Linked DNA regions of Homo sapiens: region 2 is linked to region 1. The links are contacts of gene promoters, found by promoter capture Hi-C in blood cells and fetal thymus (Javierre and others, 2016). All regions are on one chromosome and are shown on one strand. The core of a region is centred on a gene start or on the middle of the fragment in contact, and the rest is flanking DNA. Distances in the headings are between cores, read along the strand shown.

Region 1 (5,379 bases), core at 1,146-3,645:
GAAGAGTAGACTTCCTGGTAGAAAACTGGTTTGTGGTCAAAAATATCACATACTGTAGAAAAGTCTAGAATTCTAGAATGCTAAGGGAATTTTGAAAAGTTCCATTCTCTGATTCCCAATTATATAAGTTTCTCATTGAGACAGCACTCATTGGTATCTTAGCCAAATTCACAATATATTTCCCATAATTTTGGTGAGTGGTTGTTGTTGTTGTTGTTGTTTGGATCATTAAACAGAACAGGTAAGGCAAGGAGCCCATGGCTCTGCTAGATATCCTCTCGTGATGTGGGTCTGCCTTCCCCTAGCCTCATGATTGTCAGATATTAAGCGCTTCCCAGGCCAAGTTTCTAATTGCTGGAAAACCCTTTAGGAGGAATAAAGAATCACCCGAGTTTGGACAGGTGTGAGTCCCAACTCTGTAGGAGGCGTTAGGGGGATTACAGGGATTCTTCCAAGAAACTGGAAGGTTTTCCCCTTGCTTACTGGAGGGTTCTCAGTCCAGTAGCTATTCCAACTATTGGTTATAGTTGCCAGTAATTCAGTAACAGCCACGTGACTGTGACCGAGTCAGTGATCTTTAAATAAAGCCCCAAAGGACAAATTTGTCTTTTTGTCTTGAATTAGGGTGCGTACAGTCACGGAGCCAGTGTTAATAATCTGGAACAACAATGGAAATGTTCTGTGCTATTCGATGATGACAGCAGCTCCTAGCCCTGTGTAGCTATTGAGCTCATGAAATGTGGGTTGTGGGACAGTGAAATGCAATTTTTAATTTTATTTCATATTAATTTAAATATAAATAGCCACACATCGCTAGGAGCTGCTGTACTCAATAGTGCAACTCTAGAAAAATCTTGGAGAAAGAGTGATAAGCCAGATATCTCCAAAGAGGCAAATGAGTAGGTAGAATAAGTTTCTCATCCATCCCAGGCTCCTTAGCCTCTTCAGCAGCTTATTAAAGCTTGAAGTGCGTGAGTACCAAAAATAGAAAATGTCACTAACAAAGATTCATTGTGCAGTAAACGAGAGCAAGTTATATTAAACTGACTTTATTTCTATTTCCAGTTCTAGATTGATATTTTCAAGAGGATCCTTGACACAGAGTATACTACACATAGAAAATTAAGCAAAGAATTATATGGGCCAGATACAGGGTTTCAGGGACATTTTTATGTGGCCTGAAAGAACCTACTATTTTCTTGGATTTGCTGCATTCTAATTTTTAAATAATGCTACTCTATAAATTCAAACACTTCCTATTTATAAATAGCATTTTTGGATTGACGTTTTTCACATAAATAGAGTAATAGTCTTGTATGAATAGTGGTCAAAAATAATACATCTGAGGTCATTTAATACTTTTGACCATTACAAGCTCCATTTAGCTAAGTAACTTTTGCTCATTCTTAGAGAAGGCCACCCTCCTTTTCTTTTTTTTTTGAGACAGTCTCACTCTGTCGCCTGGGCTGGAGTGCAGTGGCACAATCTTGGCTCACTGCAACCTCTACCTCCTGGGTTCAAGTGTTTCTCATACCTCAGCCTTCCAAGTATCTGGGATTACAGGTGTCCACCACCATACCCAGCTAATTTTTTTATTTTTAGTAGAAACAGAGTTTTACCATTTTGGCCAGGCTTGGTCTCGAACTCCTAGCCTCAAGCGATCAGCCTGCCTCGGCCTCCCAAAGTGCTGGGATTGCAGGCGTGAGCCCCTGTCTTTTCCTTAACTCTTCTCTGCCCCCAGCAACTCAGAGGAAATGCATTTATTTCCACCTTATTGCTGCTTGCATTATAATACTGTCTTCCCTCCTCTCCCCACCTCCCTCACTCCCCTTTGCCAGTCTTTTAGGAATACTTTGTCCGAGTAGAAAAGAAGACATTTATAGGCAGAAAAAGTTAGAGTGTGCTGTTGACCTTATGATGCAGACAACATTATGAGGGCAAACTGAACTCTCAAGCCTGACCCAAAGATCGCTTCCTATCATCCAACCATTGCAGATAATCTCCAAGTATCATTTATGCTCATAGCTACTTTTAAAGTACTGTAGTTAATACACCATCCTAGCATAACTCTATATCACAGATTTGTTCTTTGAATGGTTAATTATATTTCATTACAACTGGCTTCCACTGTTACCCTCTATGTTTTATTTTGTACATTCAAAAACGTTATTCTGAAATGGTGTCCATAGGCTTCACCAGATTCCCAAAGGGGTCCAAGGCTATATTAGTCAATTCTCACATAATAAAGACATACTCAAGACTGGGTAATTTATAAAGGAAAGAGGTTCGATTGACTCACAGTTCAGCATGGCTGTGGAGGCCTCAGGAAACTTACAACCATGGTGGAAGTGGAAGCAAACATGTCCTTCTTCACATGGCAACAGGAAAGAGAAATATAATCAAAAGGAGAAAAGCCTCTTATAAAACCATCAGATCTCGTGAGAACTCATCCACTATTACGAGAACAGTATGGAGGTAACCACCCCCATAATTCAATTACCTCCCACTGGGTCCCTCCCATGACACATGGGGATTATGGGAACTACAATTCAAGATGAAATTTGGGTGGGGGCACAGCCAAACCATATCAGACACACAAAAAAAATTAAGAACCCTGGATTAAGGGGCTATCATTGTTAAAATTTTCGTGAAAGATTTTATGTAGATTATTTTGTAATCCAGATAATTATAGAACCTATAATCCTGAGTGGCATGGACAGACTTAATATTCACCCAATTTGAGAATACTAGTGTGAAATGGCATTCCTAGAGCTTGAGAAAGTTCCATTTAGGATAAATAAAAGGAAGTAAGTAAGACTTCTCACAGCAGCTACTAAATTTGGAGCACTTATTCCAAAAGGTTAAAAATATAGCTTCAAAAAAGACATCTTTGATACATGAACAACTGAACATTAATAGATCACTTTGTGAATCATAGACTTTGGGGTATTTTTAGGTTGGGGTATGGGAATCCATCCAGACATTCCTTGAAGGGCCTCTGGTGCTTCATTAGATCCAGTGCTGGTCTTAGCCAAGAGATCAGTTCAGGAAATCCTTATTTTTTTTCCTGTAGAGTGATGTGAAGGCCCAGTGAAGAATTGTCATCTTTGTGTTTACCTCCTCACTGTCACTCTGAAATGCTTGAATGCACTACCTGTTCTTTCTCTTGCTTGTGCACAGGTTGGGCAGATGCAGATTCTGAGACAACAGATTGCCAATGAATTAAATTATTCTTGTCGGTTTGATTCTAAACATCTGGCAGCTGCTCTGGAGAATCTCAATAAGTAAGTGCCAGGGTTTGAAACAGCCATCCGTGGGCTTGGATTGTTTATTATCTACGCACCCCAGTTTCTTCAGTTCTTACTCTTTTAAGTTATTTTTGGGTGGAAGGTCTGAATTTACAGGCTTCCTTGCCACGGATAATCAAATCTGTCTTCGGAGCCTCTTTCCTCAGTATTGTCCCTCCGTTTATCTCTGTCTCTCACTCACTCTCTCTAATGGATTCGTGTATTCAGCAGACAGGTACTGATCACATGATTCAATACATGTCTGCTGAACAAATGAATTCATTAGAGAGAGCGAGTGAGAGACACACCAGACACTGCTAGATACTTGCACAGATTTTAGAAAGCAATTATTACCAAAATCCGCAACTGGCTTTTTACAGGGCTGATCACTCATCATCCAGAGGGCAGTTGGAAGTGTGTTGATTACCAAGAGTGGTTATGGAGGCCTGTCCTAGAGGGAACTCATATCCTCCGCCTCACCAGCAACCTGCTGTCATTTGAGGCTGCCTACTTACAGATAAATAATCTGTGCTTCTCACTCACCAAGTCAGTGCTTTTGACAAAGCAGGTATTAAGAACAGTTCAGTCAATACATGAAAATTTGAATGGTGAATGCATTTGATTGAGGTTGATTCCAAAAGATGAAGTAATTCTAGGTCAAATTTTCCACTTAAAACCAATCACAGGCATGGTTGAGAATTAGCGAGATCAAGCTCTCATTTTACAGATGAGGAAACTGAGGCTTGAAAAGATTACATCACTGCCCTATATTAACTCTTGTATAAATTCATTTACTCACTAATGTTTATCTCCAGGGTTTTTCTTCCTTTAGGGCTCTCCTAGCAGACATTGAAGCCCACTATCAGGACCCTTCACTTCCTTACCCCAAAGAAGATAACACACTTTTATATGAAATCACAGCCTATCTGGAGGCAGCTGGCATTCACAACCCACTGAATAAGGTGAGTAATTAAAATATATAATGGCGGGGATGGGGGTACAGAATGGTATTTGGCCCAGGTAACAGATTACTGTGCAGAAATACCAGAGGAACCTGGGTTCAGACCCCAGAGCCTTCATTCCATTCAGTTCCCTGCCCTTTCTAAGCAATCATCACACTTTCCCCGCCTGGCTCAGGTCTGTGAGAATCAAGTGCTATAGCGCTGGTGAAAGCTCATGACAAAGGGGAAGGTGCTGCCTCCGTGTAAGAGATTAGTTTTGGGTTTCACTGGGGTTTGCCGTTCAGTCATCAAGGCCCAACAAACCCAAAATGGTAGCATTGATCTGTCTTGCCAAAGGTGCTTCCCCTTGTGGCTGACAGTAATCCCACTCATCATAGAAGCTACAAACTCTTCCCTGCAGTTGTGAGCTCAGAAAACCTCTAAGAACTGAAAGTTTTTTCATAACTCGGTGCCAGATCTCTTTGCATGGCAAAATCTGTCCTGAGCTGACATAAGGCTGTTTATACTAGTTATTTATCCTCCTTACTGTAAACATTCATATATTTTGATGCAGACTTTGATTATAGTAACTTTGATTATAGTGCATTACGCCAGCCCCTATATTATCTTTCTAAATCTGTAAAATTTGAAATTCTGAAAGCTGTATTATCCCTTGTGTTTTGGATAAAAGATTATAAACCTGAATAGTAGCTAATGTCTTGAATATTTACTGCATAACAAGTGCACTGTCTTAACCCTGATTGTGGATTATCTCACTTCATCTCACAACAAGCCCTATGAAATACGCCATTATGAGTTGAGGAACCCGAGGCTCAGAGAGGCCAGCTAGCAAGTGGAGGAGCCAGGCAGTCTGACCAGAGCCCCTGCTTCTGACCCGTGTGCTACCCTGTCTCCTATGGAATCGGCCAGCTGGCAGTCTGGACCTGGCCATGTACGCCCTGACTGTAGTTTCTGCCGTGACATCTGGGAGACTGCTCTGTGACATTGCCTAGGGGACAGCAAATGACAAGAAGAACTTTGCTCTCTTTCTACTTAGATACCACCACTCGCTGCTACATGGATCTTTTCCCTTCACTCTCCCTCCTCCTCTCCTTCTTCCCTCTTTCCCTCTCTCTCTCTTCTCTCTCCCA
Region 2 (5,379 bases), core at 2,156-4,655, 440 kb after region 1:
CTGCCAAAGGAAGCTGGCAGGAGGTGATTCCTGCTGAAGCCTGACAGTACATGTCCACCCTGAACTCATGGCCTTGGATGCAGACCGGCCAACTGTACACAGTTGAGCGAGGAAGTGGCGACAGCACGGTTTGAATCTGGCTGATAAAACAGATGTTCGGGGGAAGGGCTCTTATTTTCTCCCAGTTATAGGATCGGGGGTGGGGGAAGAAAACCTAATTCCCTATCTGCCAAATGTTTCTGTTGGTAATGTCCTGGCAACAGTGAGATGCCCCCAAGAATGGAGTGGTTGAAAGTTCTAGCTATCGACTCAGCCCTGGATGTAAATTCTGAATTCTGTGTGACCTTGGGCAAGTTACTTAACCTCTCTGAGTACCCTTGGCCTCATCTGTAAAATGAGGATAATGATACCTACTTTTGGCGGGGTGCAGGGGCTTGTGCCTGTAGTCCCGGCACTTTGGGAGGCTGAGGCAGGTGGATCACTTGAGATCATGAGTTTGAGACCAGCCTGGCCAACACGGTGAAACCCCGTCTCTACTAAAAATACAAAAATTAGCTGGGCGTAGTTGTGGGTGCCTGTAATCCCAGAATCGCTTGAACCCAGGAGGCAGAGGTTGCAGTGAGCCAAGATCATGCCATTGTACTCCAGCCTGGGCCACAAGAGTGAAACTCTATCTCAAAAAAAAAAAAAAAAAACAAAAAACCAAACACAGAAAACACAAAAATTAGCTGGGCATGGTGGCACATGCCTGTAGTCCCAGCTACTTGGGAGGCTGAGGCACAAGAATCTCTTGAACCTGGGAAGCAGAAGTTGCAGTGAGCCAAGATCACACCACTGCACTCCCAGCACTCTAGCCTGGACAACAGAGTGAGACTCTGTCTCAAAAAAAAAAAAAAAAAAAAATGAGATACCTACTTTATAATGGTACCTATAAGAGGAGTATAATGAGATTTTAAAAAAATGAATACAACATTCCTGCAAGGGTTTGTCATGTTGCAAGCACTCAGTAAATGGGAGCTATTCCTAATAATATGAAAAACTGCAAGATTACCTCCTAAGAGATGATAAAGTCGCTATATTCTGGCATAGTTTGGGGATGTACAGAAACCTCTTAAAGGAATAAAGTAGCTCTTAGGCCAGTGACACATGCATGAAACCTGATTTTAGGTGCTAGCGGGTTCAAGGATAGATGTTTATCACAGGGAGTTCTGATCTCCAACGGGAGCCCAGCGCGAGGGCAGGGAGGGAGGCAGCGCGAGGGCAGGGAGGGAGGCAGCGAGAGGGCAGGGAGGGAGGCAGCGAGAGGGCAGGGAGGGAGGCAGTGCGAGGGCTGTCTCCGCAGAGTCCCAGCTTAGAGCCATCCCTTTGTCAGGGATAGATGTAGCAGGCTCTTACTCTGATCCCTAGAACACTAACTCCCTGATTCTGATTCCATATTCATCTGGCCACCTTCTGAATTACCTGACAACCCAAGAAGGCTGACTGGGAGATAATCCCTGATCCAGATACTGTGAGCATCTTATCTACCCGACAGTTAAATTTTGTGAACTAAGAAAATGACATGTGGTTTCTGCATCAGGCCACAGCTGCTTCGCTGGCAGGAGCTGGCGTCATCGAGTCGCTCAGACCTGGCTTCAGCAGGAGCATCTTTCTGTGCCCATGCAGCAGAGGCAGACCATGGCAATGGGGGGTTCATGGTGGCAGATGTCGGGGAGACAGCTGGCATTTCCCAGGTGACACCCCCACAGGGTGTTGCAACCAGACACCATTCCATCCAAAACGTAGACAGGGAAGCCTCCCTGTCGGAATGTGTTTGCTGTTAATATGGTTTTCCCATAGTGTGAGCGTGTCCGTGTTTTTGTGTTTCCATATTACCATTCTCGCTTTGCTTTTAAAACAGCAACAAAGAGGAATATTGGTCTTTGTGGCTGCCAGTACGGTGCATGCCAGAATCTCATGCTTGCTGGTCTGAAGCCGCCAGATGGTGGTAGGATTGTGTGTGGGTTTTGTTTCCTCTGCTTTTTGAAAAGTCGTGAAGTGGGAGAGACTGAGAAGTGGGAGATTGGCTGGAAGATTATCATCTGATAACAGTTTGCAGTGTCTTCCACCCTGTGTGTGGGCACAATGGTGTCTTCCAAAAATGTGATGCTGACCCTACCTAGCATTTGCTGAATGTGCAGTATTAGCTGTCCCGTAAACACCAGCTGGGTTATTCATTACATACTCAGCTGTATACAGTAGCTGAATAAAACAGGTTTTTTAAAAAAAAAACCACACAGGAAATTTTCTGCATGTTTTTCTCTTCCTTGAAGATTAAAATGAGTTGTTAGGATTGCCATTGTAGCAAAAGGGAAGTTGTACTTCCTTTTTTGGGGGCTTTATGGGTTTATTTTTGAATATCTTTTCAAGTTCTTTTACCTTTGTCCTAAGGAACCTATTTTCACAGCTTAAAGGACTAATGTTTCTCTTCTCTTAGTTTCCTTGAAATCAGATTGTGTGTTTGTTGTAAGAACATTTAGATCAAGCTTGTCCAACCCATGGCCTGTTGGCCCCATGCGCCCCAGGATGGTTTTGAATGTGGCCCAACACAAATTCATCAACTTTCTTGAAACGGTTTTTTTTTGCTTTTATTTTATTTTATTTTATTTATTTTTAAGATGGAGTCTCACTCTGTTGCCCAGACTGGAGTGCAATGGCTTGATTTCGGCTCACTGCAACCTCCGCCTCCCGGGTCCAAGCGATTTTCCTGCCTCAGCTTCCTGAGTAGCTGGGATTACAGGCGCCTGCCTCCACGCCCAGCTAATTTTTTGTATTTTTAGTAGAGATGGGGTTTCACCACGCTGGCCAGGCTGGTCTTGAACTCTCAACCTTAGGTGAGCCACCATGCCCAGCCTGTTTGTTTTTTTAGCTCATCAGCTATCATTAGTGTATTTTAAGTGTGGCCCAAGACAATTCTTCCATGTGGCCCAGAGAAGCCAAAAGATTGGACACACCCGACTGAGATGATCTTGTAAATGGCACAGGCAAAAAAGTTTGTGTTTTGCAGCCATTTTCAAGGCTAACATAAGGTATCAGGACGCTGCTCAGTGACTTATGTGTGACCAGGGTCTCTAATGATTGGAGAGGGGATATTTGTCTCGTGTGAACAGAGTCTGATCTCTGTGAAGACTTGTGATACCAGAAACTGGTTGCTTCTCCATTTCCTCCCTCTCTGCCTCCCCTCCCTGTAGTTAAACAAATGTAGGGCATCAAATGATGCCACTTTCTTCTGGTTGTCCATCTCTCCATGCCCAAGGGTAAAAATAAAATGCTGATGAAGCCAGAGGAACACAGTTTGTTCATTTGAAGTTCTTAATATCCTGAGTGCTGACTTTGACCTTTAATGAAAATGATGGTCCTTTTGGCAGGGGCCAGCTGCCTCATAAATGTGCAGCTTAAAGAACAAGGATGAGTTTCCCTGAACAAGAGAAACAGCAGCAAGCGTGGAAGTCCTGCGTGCATCAGGAGCACTCTGCTAATTAAAGGCAAGAGTGGGATGCCTGGCCAGGCACTGTGGCTCACACCTGTAATCCCAGCACTTTGGGAGGCTGAGGCGGGCAGATCACTTGAGGTCAGGAGTTCGAGACCAGCCTAGCCAACATGGTGAAACCTCATCTCTACTAAAAATACAAAAATTAGCCAGGAGTGGTGGCGCACGCCTGTAATCCCAGATACTTGGGAGGCTGAGGCAGGAGAATTGCTTGAACCCGGGAGGTGTAGGTTGTGGTGAGCTGAGATGGTGCCACTGCACTCCAGCCTGGGCAACAGAGCAAGACTACATCTCAGAAAGAACAAAAAGAGTGGGATGCCCAACAGCAAGGAACTGCTGGTTTGTTGCTTTGTGAGTTTTCTAAGGCACCTTCCAGCTCTAAGGTTACCATGACGATCCGTCATTTCCAATTACAGGAGATGCCCACTCTATGGGGGCAGGCGGCTGTCTCTTTACTTCGTAGCACAATAATTAGACCAAGGTAACATTTCCTAAAAATTTGTTGACTACAGGAACACTGTCCTTTCTCCACTCCAGCATCTTGGTTGCCAGGAAGAGGGGTCATCCAGTCTAACCTGGAGATCACCTAAGAGATCCACCTTATAGACCCCCAGGCTGATGTACCCACCTCTAGCCGAGGTCTGGCTAGCCCCTTGCCTGGAGCTTCCTTACTGATCAGTTATTTTGTTGGTCTGGGTTATAGTTGTCCACCTACTAGCCTTTTGGGTTTTGCCCCTTGGTCTAGATCAAGCTTGTTCAACCTGCAGGCCTCACATGGCTCAGGATGGCTTTGAATGCAGCCCAACACAAATTTGTGAGCTTTCTTAAACCATTATGAGGCCGGGCATGGTGGCTCACATCTGTAATCCTAGCACTTTGGGAGGTCGAGGTGGGGGAATCACTTGAGGCCAGGAGTTCAAGACTAGCCTGGCCAACATGGCGAAACCCCATCTCTACTAAAAATACAAAACTTAGCCAGGTGTAGTAGTGCACACTTGTAGCCCCAGCTGTTTGGGAGGCTGAGGTGGGAGGATTGCTTGCACCCAGGAGGCGGAGGTTGCAGTGAGCCGTGATCACACCACTGCACTCCAGCCTGGATGACAGAGTGAGACCGTGTCTCAAAAAAAAATTATATATATATATATATATGTATATATATGAGATTTATTTGTGATTTTTTTTTTTTAGTAGCTGTTGTTTGTGTTAGTGTATTTTATATGTGGCCCAAGACAATTCCTCTTCCACTGTGGCCCAGGGAAGCCAAAAGATTGGACACACCTGGTCGAAATCTTTGGGTAAAGCATTGTCTTAGCTAGGGCATCATGATTGAACTTTTCCAGGCCTAAGAATTGAGCTTCCTCTTCTCTTATTAGAATTCAGGTTCACACTCTGATGCCATTTGGAAACACTCTTACTTTCCTTTGAAGACTGTGTTCTGTCACTTCACCTTATAAAATAAAAAAATCCTGAAACATGCCAGTGCGATTGCAGAAGAGGAGTGCCCAGCTTCATGGTCAAGTCTGACGCTCGTGTGTGCGTGTGTGCAGAGCTGTGTAGCCGTGGCTAGTGCTGGCCTCCAGGCATCCCCCGGGGCAGCAGATGGTGTACCCAGCCTTGCCCTGCTCGGTCCAGCCAGAGTGGCAGTGATGCACGCTGAGGCAACTTCTGTGATGCAACACCCGGGCAGTCCTCCAGCCCGCCGTCAAGGTGAAAAGACCCCTGCCAATTTAGGACTTCTGGGCTCTCTGAGAGCAGGGGCTTGAGAGGAAGGAGAGACTATTTTCTCATATAGTGAAACTAAAATATTACAACCTGCCATGAGCCATTGCAGCAGTGTCCCTAAGTGGCCC

Evidence for each region. Contacts are between HindIII fragments. The CHiCAGO score rates a contact against its expected background, and 5 or more counts as called.
Region 2: a fragment that was not itself captured here is called in contact with the fragment with the promoter of WASHC5-AS1 in region 1 in 3 of 17 cell types (erythroblasts, M2 macrophages and megakaryocytes); the score reaches 8.9 in erythroblasts.

Annotation. Positions count from the first base shown.
Region 1 is chr8:125,037,700-125,043,078 of GRCh38, reverse strand. WASHC5-AS1 (WASHC5 antisense RNA 1) reads right to left here and starts at 2,395. Exons shown (of 2, transcript NR_170219.1): 1 at 2,300-2,395. It overlaps WASHC5 (WASH complex subunit 5), which reads left to right. Exons shown (of 29, transcript NM_014846.4): 24 at 3,181-3,284; 25 at 4,120-4,249. The HindIII fragment of the contact is 6,314 bases long and covers 964-5,379 here.
Region 2 is chr8:124,601,488-124,606,866 of GRCh38, reverse strand. All of the region lies in intron 3 of MTSS1 (MTSS I-BAR domain containing 1), which reads left to right. It overlaps LOC124902016 (a long non-coding RNA gene), which reads right to left and starts at 130. Exons shown (of 2, transcript XR_007061088.1): 1 at 1-130. RefSeq lists an enhancer at 1,442-1,511. The HindIII fragment of the contact is 1,755 bases long and covers 2,528-4,282 here.